4 separate regions of the Homo sapiens genome follow, and all the other regions are linked to region 1. The links are contacts of gene promoters, found by promoter capture Hi-C in blood cells and fetal thymus (Javierre and others, 2016). All regions are on one chromosome and are shown on one strand. The core of a region is centred on a gene start or on the middle of the fragment in contact, and the rest is flanking DNA. Distances in the headings are between cores, read along the strand shown.

The links. The method cuts DNA at HindIII sites, captures the fragments that hold promoters and counts their contacts. A CHiCAGO score of 5 or more calls a contact.
Region 2: a fragment that was not itself captured here is called in contact with the fragment with the promoter of KIRREL3 in region 1 in 4 of 17 cell types (fetal thymus, monocytes, endothelial precursors and 1 more); the score reaches 6.3 in fetal thymus.
Region 3: a contact is called between a fragment that was not itself captured here and the fragment with the promoter of KIRREL3 in region 1, in 1 of 17 cell types (fetal thymus). The highest score is 5.3, in fetal thymus.
Region 4: a contact is called between a fragment that was not itself captured here and the fragment with the promoter of KIRREL3 in region 1, in 3 of 17 cell types (megakaryocytes, fetal thymus and M1 macrophages). The highest score is 7.5, in megakaryocytes.

Annotation. Positions count from the first base shown.
Region 1 is chr11:126,999,342-127,002,171 of GRCh38, forward strand. KIRREL3 (kirre like nephrin family adhesion molecule 3) reads right to left here and starts at 1,429. Exons shown (of 17, transcript NM_032531.4): 1 at 1,114-1,429. The coding sequence starts at 1,168. The HindIII fragment of the contact is 3,223 bases long and covers 568-2,830 here.
Region 2 is chr11:126,513,984-126,516,813 of GRCh38, forward strand. The region is part of intron 4 of KIRREL3 (kirre like nephrin family adhesion molecule 3); the gene reads right to left. Among named protein-coding and RNA genes, the nearest start is that of KIRREL3-AS1, 28 kb to the right of the region's middle. The HindIII fragment of the contact is 1,786 bases long and covers 468-2,253 here.
Region 3 is chr11:126,633,582-126,636,411 of GRCh38, forward strand. All of the region lies in intron 1 of KIRREL3 (kirre like nephrin family adhesion molecule 3), which reads right to left. Among named protein-coding and RNA genes, the nearest start is that of KIRREL3-AS4, 18 kb to the right of the region's middle. The HindIII fragment of the contact is 824 bases long and covers 1,005-1,828 here.
Region 4 is chr11:126,730,058-126,732,887 of GRCh38, forward strand. All of the region lies in intron 1 of KIRREL3 (kirre like nephrin family adhesion molecule 3), which reads right to left. It overlaps LOC105369561 (a long non-coding RNA gene), which reads left to right. Exons shown (of 3, transcript XR_007062941.1): 3 at 487-559. Among named protein-coding and RNA genes, the nearest start is that of KIRREL3-AS4, 79 kb to the left of the region's middle. RefSeq lists enhancers at 1,518-2,053, 2,797-2,830. The HindIII fragment of the contact is 165 bases long and covers 1,376-1,540 here.

The DNA.
Region 1 (2,830 bases), core at 179-2,678:
TTGCTTATATTTGGCTTCTCCCCGACAGGGGAGAAACAGAAGACATGCTGTTTGCTTGCAAAGCCAGCCACCCATGGCAGTGCTTTGCTTTCTCGAAAACTTTTACCCTTCATTTAATCAACAGATGGACGTGCTCTGTTGTGGATTTTTTCTGAGTCTTGCACCTCTAAGAGCTGTGTTGGCTGGCACAAATGCAGCCTCAGATGGCAGAGGTGCATTGGCATTCCAAAAGAGCGGGAAGGAGCCCATGTACTTGCCCCTCCAAACTCAATTCCACAGGTGACTTTTGATGCCTTTGGCCAACTAGGCACTCACATTCCCTCTCCCGAATTTCCCTCTCCTTTCTGCACCACTACCAGCCCCAGGGCTCCCAGTGGCAAGGAGCCTAGAGGTGGCAAAGTTCTTTCCGGAGAGTCCACCTGCTTCTCTGCCCCTGCTAGGCTGCAGAAAGGAAACCATCAGCACCACGGGCGAAATTTCATTTTATACCCTGAATTCAGTGCTGTGTAGGATTCAGAATTCAACCTAATTTAGGGAACTCGATGACGTTCAATGAAACTCTTTACAAGCTTTTCCCAACCACTGCAAATTACCCCCCACAATACATTCTGTAATTGCAACCCCCTTTTCAACGGTGCAAACCACACACATTCGCTTTTGAATACACTTGTGCAAGTCAAACCCTATTCAAGCTGAAATATCCACCTAAACCAAGCTCTCCCTCCCTGCCGTCTCCTTCCCTGGCCTGGGTCTGAAGGAGAGGAGGTGCCCAGAAGTTCAGAGCGGCATAACCACAGAGATACTACCTAATTAACATACCAGAAGCATAAAGAACTCATTTGCATTGGAGAGTTTGAGCTGGATATTGACAAGTGAGAGGAGAAAGTCATTCCCCTCCCCTCCCATACCCCTTCTTTCCAAAGGAAAATAAACAGTACCATTTTGTTGCATTCGCAAAGGCGAAGAGGCAATGCCAGAGCATCTCAGCCCGGCACCGAGAGACGCATCCATCAGTCCGAGTTCCCGAAGCCTGCCCACGTTCCTGCCCACAGCCTCCCGCGCCCTGACAACCCAGCCGACTTTCTTCCAACTCCAGCAGCGCAGGGGTCCTACCTTGACTGAAGAGGAAGAAGCAGACGAAGAGCAGATCGAGCTGGAAGGGTTTCATTCCTTAGCGCAGCGAAGGAAAGCCGGCGGGGTAACTTGGCTGTGGTTAGTTTCTCTTCCTTGGCGGCTCTCGGTGCTCAGCCTCCGCCGGTCCTCTCGGGTTCGCGCCTACCATCTGTCCGTCCGTGGGTCCCTCCGGGTGGCTTCGGTCTCTTTGTGCCTCTGGGTATCTGCAGCCAGCCGACACAAACTGCCTGTTCTTAGCCGCCTCGGGAAGCCGGGATTGTCAGCAATGTCCCCACTCGGAGAAGATCCATTCTCTGGCTCTTGGCATCCCAGGCACACGGCTTCCTCAGGCGGGCTCCTCCCACAGTGAGCGAGCGAGCTAGTGACGAGTGACAGAAGGACTCCTTTCACTGAAGCTGAGGCGAGGGGAGAGGGAGGGGAGACAGGTCATAATTAAAGAGGAAACACTCGGAAAAAGGAGATCTATGCAAAACGGACAGTGGGGGAAAAGGCTGTGTTCTTTCTTTTCCCTAAATAGGGAAAAATTCAGCTTTTGTCACCATTATTGACCAAAAGGCATCTTGAGCTTGGAGTGGAGCTGTGACTTTTTGTCCACACGATGTCCTGTTTAACAGTGAAGTTAAGGATGACTATCCACATGCATGTGCACAAAAACATGCACGCCCTGCCTTTGCAAAGGAACTGGAAACTGGGCTGAAAGGGAACTAGGAAGGGGGGGTGCGCATCTTTCCCTCGGAAGGACTTGGCCAATGTGTGCAGCGGGAGGCTCGGAGTTGGAGAAGAGATAAGCATGCTTTGCATTTCTGAGAGTTTCCTGTGGGTGGGTGGGTGGTTGTGGTGGGGGGGGGGGGTAGGTAATAAAACCTGAACATTTGGATCTTAGTTTGCTTTGCACTGCTCCTGGAAGACAAAATGCAGGAACTAAAGGGAAGGCAAGTAGGCTTGTGACACACACCCATTTATTATCATTATCCTGGTTTGTGCATTTCCTAACGAGGACAGGGGAGCAGCCTGTCTTTGCATTCAGAGCCTCTCCTCTAATGAGCGCTCCATCACTCTGAGCCTGTCTTTTCTCCAAGAGGTGCTGTGAGTCCAATTGCAAAGGAGAGGCCAAGGTCATAGACAACTGCGTCCTAAGGATCTTCAAGCCTTTTACCTGTCATGAAATTCACACTCCACACTCAAATCAAACTCGGTTTCCTCCAGGATATCAACATGAATTTATCTGGGTCTATTTACTTAATAGACATTTAGGCATGCTTGGTATAAGCAGGCCATGGAGGGAAGCAAAATAATAGGCACAGACCATGCCTTCAGAAGCTCATAATCTAGTGTGCAAGCAGAGTACACACACAAGATGCAAACTCTAAGGACATAACAAAACAACACAGAAAAATATTCAACGTTATGCACTGTGAGAAGGAGAGGTAAAGAGAGAGGAGAGGAAAATGAAAGACGCTCCCCTGACATGTGCCATTTAGCATTCAATTCTAAAATCAGTCATTACTGTCTTCAGTCCCTGGACCTTGGGGAGGTCTTTTGGGAAACTCTTAGCCTTTCCTCTTTCAGTAGTAGCACATCTTTTGAGGACTCTGCTCACTACAAGGCACATTCCAACTCCAAGTTTCCATGCGGATGTTAACTTTAAAAAATTATCCCTTGGTATTTGTGAACAAGAAAGAAAGAAGCAGGGGCA
Region 2 (2,830 bases), core at 111-2,610, 490 kb before region 1:
AGCTCCGAGTTAGATGGGAGGCTAAGGTGGTGTCAGTGGCCAAAGGGAGAAAGAGGAGGGGAATCTGCTTCTGGCCCAGGGGACATGGGGGTAGTCTGGGCTACCAGGAAGGGAGCTGGGAGCGAGCTGGTGGCAGGGGTGGGGTGTGTGTAGGGGGAGCGAGATGTACAATAGCTCCGACACAGCTCCCATGTGGAACCTCAGGAGATAAGGATGTTTTCTGCTCCTGTCTTCCGTCTCTGGCTCGTTTGCTACCGCTATTTGGGGGTGATTGCAGGGTAATGAATGTTGCAGGAAACAGCCACATAGCACAAATGAGATACGGCACTAAGACCAGGCCAGGGCCCAGGCAAAACACGCTTAATAAGCAGATAAGGAAATCAATTCTGCCTTTCTTCCCAGGTGTGCAGCCTGCTGGGAGGGGCCTGCAGGAATCATATCTTCCTGCCTTGCTTGATACATGGGAAAGCTTCTCTAGGAAGCAAAGTCTGATCCCCCGGGATGCAGGGGTTGCTTGTTGGTGTCTCATAACATTGTGCAATAATAGCAATGATGAAAACAGTTATAATACTAGCAGCCAATGCTGCTATGCCTTGCTGCATAACAGGCGCTATTCTGAGACATGTTTTACATATATTATTTCATTAAATCCTCTCTTCAACCCCATGAAAGCAGTTATGATTATTTCCCTCATTTTACACAGAAAGAAACAGGCACAGAGTGGTTAAATAACTTGCTCACGGTCACACCAGTGGCAAAATGATACAGCTAGGTTTCAAGTGCGGGCAATCTGGCTTCCAGAGGCCAGGCGCTTAGCCACATTGCCTCTCCAACACAACACAACACAACACAACACAACACAACACAACACAACACAACACAACAAAACACAATTGTCATCCGTGTTTGGGGCTTACTATCTGCCAGACTCTGTTCTCTGTCGTCAGATTCAGTGTAAACTCCCCCTAAATTTTCCCTAAGCCTTGTTATTTCAATTGCCATGAGGAACATTTACTGAACACCCAGTATGTGATTCTAGGCTGTGCTAGGCATGAAGGATGAAAGATGCTCCCAGGAGACCCGGTGGGGGAAACAGACATGAAAACAGTTACTCTCAACATAGCGTGTCGAGACCTGTAATCAAGGTGCATAAGGAGGCTGGGCGCGATGGCTCACGCCTGTAATCTCAGCATTTTAGGAGGCTGAGTTGGGTGGATCCCTTGAGCCCAGAAGTTCAAGACAAGCATTAGCAACATGGCAAAACCCGGTCTCTACAAAAACAAAACAGAACAAAACAAAAAAACAAACAAACAAAAATTAGCTGGGTGAGGTGGTGCATGCCTGTGGTCTCAGCTACTCGGGAGGCTGAGGTGGGAGGATCGCTTGAGCCAGGGAGGTCGAGGCTGCAGTGAGCCATAATAGTGCCACTGCACTTCAGTCTGGATGACAGAGCAAGACCCTGACTCAAAAAAAAGATGCCTAAGGAAGTGAAAAGGACCACAGGGGGACAGTCAGGCCATGTGGGCTCCAGAGAAGGCTTCCTGGAGGAGGAGTTGTCTGAGGTGAATCTTGACAGCTGAACACAAGTTAGCCAAGGGAAGAAAGGTAGGAAGGGCACTCCAGGAAGAAACACAGTGTGAATGAGGGCCCAGAGGCTTGGTGAGCGGAAGGAGATGCCAGCTGCTTGTTAGTGCGGGAGCAGGTTGGCGGTGGGTCTGAGGCTGGGGACACAGCTGGGGGCTGGCCTCGGGGGGCCTTGTGTGGCCTGGCAGGGAGCTTGGGTTTTGTTCTGTGGGGACACTTTCTCGCCCCTGAAGAACCCCTCAGACTGTCACCTACTGATTTGCCTTTTTATGTCAGGGTGACTATGGATGGGTTTCTTGCAACCAGTTTCTGGAAGAATGGTTTAGAAGCCAGCACCCTCGAGGTCTGTTCCAGCTCTGCCTTCCTTTGCTGGCAGACTCTGAGTTATTCACCACTGTTCTCTGGACCCATCTCCCCAGAAGATTCATGGATGGGAGATTGGGGGAGGCTGCCAACGCGGTGGGCTGAGGAGGCCCTGCAGCTCTGCTGGTAGAGCTGTGGCAAAGGGAGCTTGTGGTTTTGAAAAACAAACTAGTTAAGGACACGTCACAGATTGGACCTTATCTGTTTTCCTCTCTCAGTATTTGGGGCTTGACATCATTTAAAAAGATGCCCTCTTTATTTGAATTGACTTAGTCTCCCTCTTAAATAATTCATGTTGATTTAGGAAGCTTTATTTCTAACGGGAGCCACAAGACAGCAGAGTTAATATTAGAACGGGCCAGGAAGAAGAGGGAAATGAGGAGGGAGACTGGGAAAAATGCCCCTCTTAATAATTAATCTGATGCCAACATCCCCTCCTCCCACTTCTGATCCCCCCATCCTGCTCTACTTTTTCCTTTCCGTAGCATTTATTACCACCTCACATCCTGTACAGCAATGCAATTTATGGTTTAATCCGTGCATCACTTATCGACCGCCTTCTCTCTGCCAGAATGCAAGCTCCACCAGGGCAAGGATGGTTTTCTCTTTCGTTTCCTGATGAATCCCACGTGTCTAGACTAGTGCTTGGCATATAACAGGTGCTCAGTAAACATTTGTTGATCAAATCCTTGGTACCATTTCCTCCCTGCCCTGGATGTCCCAACACCTTGCTTCCCAAGTTTCCAGGAAGTTGAAGAGATCAAGTGTAATGCCACCCTTACAACTCTGACCCTGGGACAGTTTCAATATTTTTCAACCCTGGGATTCCTGTAGGTGGAAGAAGGAGCAGTCTGCATGTATATGTGTACACAACTTTAAAATA
Region 3 (2,830 bases), core at 167-2,666, 370 kb before region 1:
GCTCCATTTCCCCTTCTGCCATGAGCGGAAGATTCCTGAAGCCCTCACCAAAAGAAAATGCTGGCACAATGCTTCTTGCACACCCTACATAACCATGAGCCAATTAGATCTCTTTTCTTTACAAATTACCCAGCCTCCAGTATTCCTTTACAGCAATGAAAAGGGTCTAAGAAAAACACTGTCTTGTCTTCCTTTTCCATCATCCATCAGTGTATGTTTTTGTACCAGCAAGTATGTTTATTTAGGCAGAACCACAGGTACTGGCAACGTATCTACAGTGTAGACATGAAAAGAACAGGAAGAGCATAAGTAACAGAGATTTTGTTCACATGGTTTAGTCATGTTCCCACTGCAATGTCCCTCTTCATACAGTATTTCTTACCTCCTTCCACCTCTTCAGAAAGTACAGCGTAGTCCACATGAATGAGACCTGAGTGCACTGGGGCATCCTTCCCTCCTGCTCTGGGGGTCAGGTGTGGTAATCTGGCTTAGCTTCCTCCAAAGCTCCAGTTGGAAGGGAACACGTTCTCTTTTTCTGGGGTGATCCAGTGTCGAAGGCCAATTTACATGCAGACTGGGTGTGTTGTCTGTATTGCTCTGTTCACCGGTACCGAAGGCTCTGAGTAAGGTGGAATCAGACCCTACTCTACTTTCCCTGAACAGTGAGAGCAGCAAGAGCTAACAGCTGAGCATCTACTTTGTGCCGGACCCTATGACATGCACTTTCCATGCATTCATGCAGTCTTCACAATAATTGAATGTGGAAGGTGCCATTGTTCCCTGTATTGTACCGCTGGCCAGTGAGAGCCAGGAGCCTGTGCTCATCACAATACCATAGTTTTCAGCCCCCCAGGCTAACATCTACCCTCTCTCGTGGTGCCTGGGACCCTTCTGGACCTGATCAAGGTGTAGCAGCTAATGGACTCGGAACAAGTCTCTGTAGATTTGAGTGGAGGCGCCACTTGGGCTGGAGAGGCTTGCGGGGAGCTTTGCAGGGGAAATGAAGCTTGACTCTTGGGTCCTCAGGGTTTAAGGTTTGCCTTTTTTCTCAAAAAAGACTTAAAGGGAACCAGGTCCCTTGTACCTGCTGTGTGCACCTGGCAAAGAGTGCATCGGGTGGAATGCAGTCCTCTCTCACCAAGCTCTTGCACTCCATTGCCCCCTAGCCTAGAATACTTGCTCCCTGCTCAGTAAAGAATCAAATTCCTGCAAATATCCATCCTCGGTCCTAGGCTACAGGTCTGCGCCCTCTCGGAGGCCCTTGCTGGTGCTCTTTCCACTAAGCCTCACTGCCTCTCCTGTCTTCAAGGGGACTGATTGCACTAGGGAAGTGTGGAGGGAGGGTATATGCACCCAGGGAAGAAAGCAGCACAGCACTTCTCACAGCTCTGGTCTACAGTTGCTCCACTCAGCAAGTGGGGACAGTTCCAGCTTCTGGGCTCTTCTTGCCCCTAAACTTCTCCTCGATCAGGAGTAATATAGTCTGAGAATGAGCACAAAGAACACTTTTTCTTTTAAGGATTGACCTTTTGCTCAATGAGCAGGATTGAACCTTGAACCCAACAAAAGGGTCTGCAGTGAGGCAGGGCTGGACAGCTCCACCTCTAGGCAGGCACAGCAAGTGTGGGCATTGCTTACTGCAGAGAGGCTTCCCTTCTAAATCCACTCATGGGGGGTGCCAGGTGCTTCCCTCCAAGGCAGAAGGTAACCCCTCCCAGTCCAGAGCAAATCACGGTCTCCATGTTTTTCCTCCCTGGTCCCACATAGGTGAGTGATATATACAGAGGTTAGACCTCAGGGTTATGTTATGGATTGGAGGGAGCAGAGAAGCTTCCTCATTAAAAGGGCTGGGCTGGTTGGCTGGCTCCAAGGCCCTCAGCACCTCTGGGCTTCTGAGCCATGGGAGAGTTGGACAGAAGGCTGAACAGTGGCTGATGGCCTGGAGGAGGAGATAGGGAGGGAGGAGAAGGCTGGATGCTGGGTTCCCATTGTACACCCCCAGCAACGAGCCCCCCTGCCAGCCCAGAGTAACCAGAGATCTTGGGCCACAAGTCAGACACACCTAGACTAAGATGTGGCTTTGACCCCAGCTGGATATCTGCTCACGTCATCAAAGCTCTTGAGGCCTCAGCTTCCTTATCTGTAAAATGTGGCTGGGAATACCTGTTCTACTGATCTGAAGAATTGTTGTGGTAATCTGAAGAGGCGATTGGTATAAAAATACCAGGTAAAAGGCAGAGTGTGTCCCATGAATGAGACACCCTGTCCTTCTCCCTCAAGACATCCTCTTTGTTTCTCATTCCCAATATGAAAATAACAAACCATTCTAGGGAACAACTTGGTTATTTTTGGGTCATGGGCAGGGCCAGCAGGCCTACAGGTAGCGGGAGGGATCAGTGGAGGAAGCGACGTGATTCCTGTAAGACTTGAATGCCCCTGAGTCAAAGTCTGCTCTGAAGACCAGCCCCCTTAGAGTGACAGAGATGGGGCTACCTCACAACTCTGCCACTTACTATTTTTAGGACCTTGGGGAAGTCATATAGAATTTTGAATTTTAGTTCCTTCATTTGTAAAAATGGGAAGGGTAATAGCACTATCCTTAGCATTATAAAATAATGGATACTTATGGCATACCCAGGGCATGGCATGTGCTAAGCATTCAATAAATGTGGACTATTATTGTTATTTCCTTTTTGAGCTAGTTGTGTTTGCTTGCTACGGAGGAAATACCCATTTCAAAGAATTGGGAGGATAAAATTAAGAGACTGGTAACCCAGCATCTGCCGTTTAACAGATGCCCTGTAAGTGAGTGCCTTCCTCTTTCTCCCTT
Region 4 (2,830 bases), core at 208-2,707, 270 kb before region 1:
CCTGTCCCCAGCCACTTAAATGTTGATGTCCCTAGGTTCTATCCCCAGCCGTCTTCTCATTCAGAATTCCCCTCCTCAAAGTAGATTCATCACTCCCAGAGACATTTACATCACGTCTCCACTTAGCCCTTGGCCCTGGCTCTCAGCCCCGCAGAACCCACTGCCGACTAGCCCCATCCACATGGGGGCCCACAGGCCCCTTGAGTGTGACACGTCCAAATGAGTTACTCACCTTCTCCTCCCTCTTCTCATCATCTCTGCACCATCAACATCCCCTAATTGTCCACCAGAAATCAGGGAACAATCCTGGCCTCCACCCTCTCCTCACCCTATACGTCTGGTCAATCATGCCTTCCTCTCAACCTGACTCCTACAGGTATCTTCAACCTGTGCCCATTCTCGCAGCTCTGAGCTTATTCCATACTACATAAGTTTGCTTAGACTGGTGGTTCTCCACCATGGGTGATTTTTGTCTTCCCCACCTAGGGGACATTTGGCAACGTCCAGGGACAATTTCTGATGGTCACAACGAAGTGGTTGCTACTAGCATCAAGTGGGTAGAGGCCAGGGATGGAGCTGAACACGATACAATGCACCAGGCGGCCCCTGCAACCAAGAACCAAAATGGCGGTAGTCCCCAGGTAAAGAAAACCTGGCTTACAACATGCAATACTTTTCTTTTTCTTTTTTTTTGTTTTTGAGATTGAGTCTTGCTCTGTCACCCAGGCTGGAGTGCAGTGGTGCCATCTCGGCTCACTGCAACCTCCGCCTCCCAGGTTCACGCCATTCTCCTGCCTCAGCCTCCCGAGTAGCTGGGACTACAGGCACCTGCCACCACGCCTGGCTAATTTTTTTATATTTTTAGTAGAGATGGGGTTTCACTGTGTTAGGCAGGATGGTCTCCATCTCCTGACCTCGTGATCCACCCGTCTCGGCCTCCCAAAGTGCTGGGATTACAGGCGTGAGCCACCGCGCCCAGCCAACATGCAATACTTTTCTAACTGGTGTCTCTGACAATCAGGTTCCCCTTCAAGCCACTCTCTTTGCTGCCTCCTGCGAGAATGCTTAGCTTACAAATGAATCTGTCTGCATGTCTCCATTTCCTAACTTCTCAGCATAGTTTACAAAGCTCCCTATGATCTGGCCCTGCCCAACTCTCCAGACCCACCTTCCATTTCTCCTGTTAGTCCATGCCCCAGCAGTACTAGATAATCTGCCGTTCTCTGAGTAAATCATGTTCTTCCATACCTCTGGGCCACTGCCTAGGTCTCAAATGACCCTATCCCAGGGTCCATCCCGCTGTGTCCACTGTTTGCATTGGGTCAGAGCTTACTTAGTCCTTCAAGACTCAGCCCGAATACCATTTCCTGGACAAAGCTTTCTCTTGGCTATGCTTCTACCACAGCTTGTACGTATTCTCATGTCTACCTTTCACATTTCTCTTTCTGCAGTCTTCTTGAGGTCACAGATGTGATTTTATTTATCTTTACAGACCCAATGCCTAGCGCCATGTCTGGTGAGTGAATGCACACAGGAAGAAAGCTTTGCCAAAATTTGCACACCTCGTTGCTGGAAGGACTAGGACTGGCATTCAGGTCTTTGGACTCCCAAGCTATGCTCACCTCATCAGACCTGATGGCTCTAAGTAGGTCAGTTTTAGGTCCTGAGCTACTTGATCCATCTGGCTCCCAGTTAGAGAACAACAAGAAACTAATCACATGTGGTGGCTGCTGCCTCCGTAAGTGCTTCCATTTATTCACAAGCTGAAAGACAAAAGCTTGGCCCCCCAGCATATGCTGGATCAAAAGCAAGGAACAAAAAGGATTGTAAAAGAAAGACGCTGGAAATAGTAGCTACTTTGATGCAGGCAGCTCTTTGAGGAAGCAGCTGAGGACTGTGCCCCCAGCAGCAAAGAGAGAGAGAAGTCACTGCCAGAGGGTGAAGGAAATCACTGCAGGAAGGGTGGGACCTCACTGGCTTCTCTGCTGGTTTCCAGCGAGTGCCAGGAATGGGGGAGGGGTGTCTCATTAATCTCACCTCCTTGCTGCCCTGCCTGGGGTCTTTACAATCTGCTCCATTTGGAGACTAAGGATTCCTACAGGAATGGCAATCTGAGCCAGAGATTTAGGAAGGAGGTTTATAAGTAATGGCTAGAGCGATAGAGTAATTAATAGGAAACTATTATTAACAATACAGTGATTTCATAATGATTCCGCAGTTTATAATACAAATGTATACATCATTTGATGAATTATTGTATTGAGCCCGAGGATGCAGGAATGGCCAGATTCTGTCCTTGAAATAGCCACCCCTTCTCATGAGGACCCCTGAGAAAATATAGTAAGCACACAAAGAAAGGAAAGCAAAGCAATGCTTCATTGTTAGCTGGACTTGTGATCAAAACCCTAGCGCTCTCTGGTCAACTGGACTAGATGACGTTTTCTACTAAGCAAGTTAGGACTAAACAGCTCATAACAACAGCCAATCCAATATACCTGCTTGTCTCGGGAAAGTGTAGTCAGCTGCAGAGAGACAGTGAGAGAGTGACTGTTTCCTTTGAATTCCTGCTCTCTGGAGTTGACTTGGGCAGCCTGGCTCTGAACCAGGACACCATCTCTGGGTTGGTGGCCATCTGAGAAAACATGGAGAAAAGACACTTTGAGGAAGGTAACCTCGTAATGCTGAGAGGAAGCTTATGCCCAAGGAGACTCCAAGGAGAATTTGGGATCTAACCCCAGAGCACTGCAGAGTGGAAAAGGCCAGGGGGAACCCCTTATCTTACCAGAAAACCAAGCAAAGGAGATAGCAAGAGGCTGGACTGAAGTTAAAG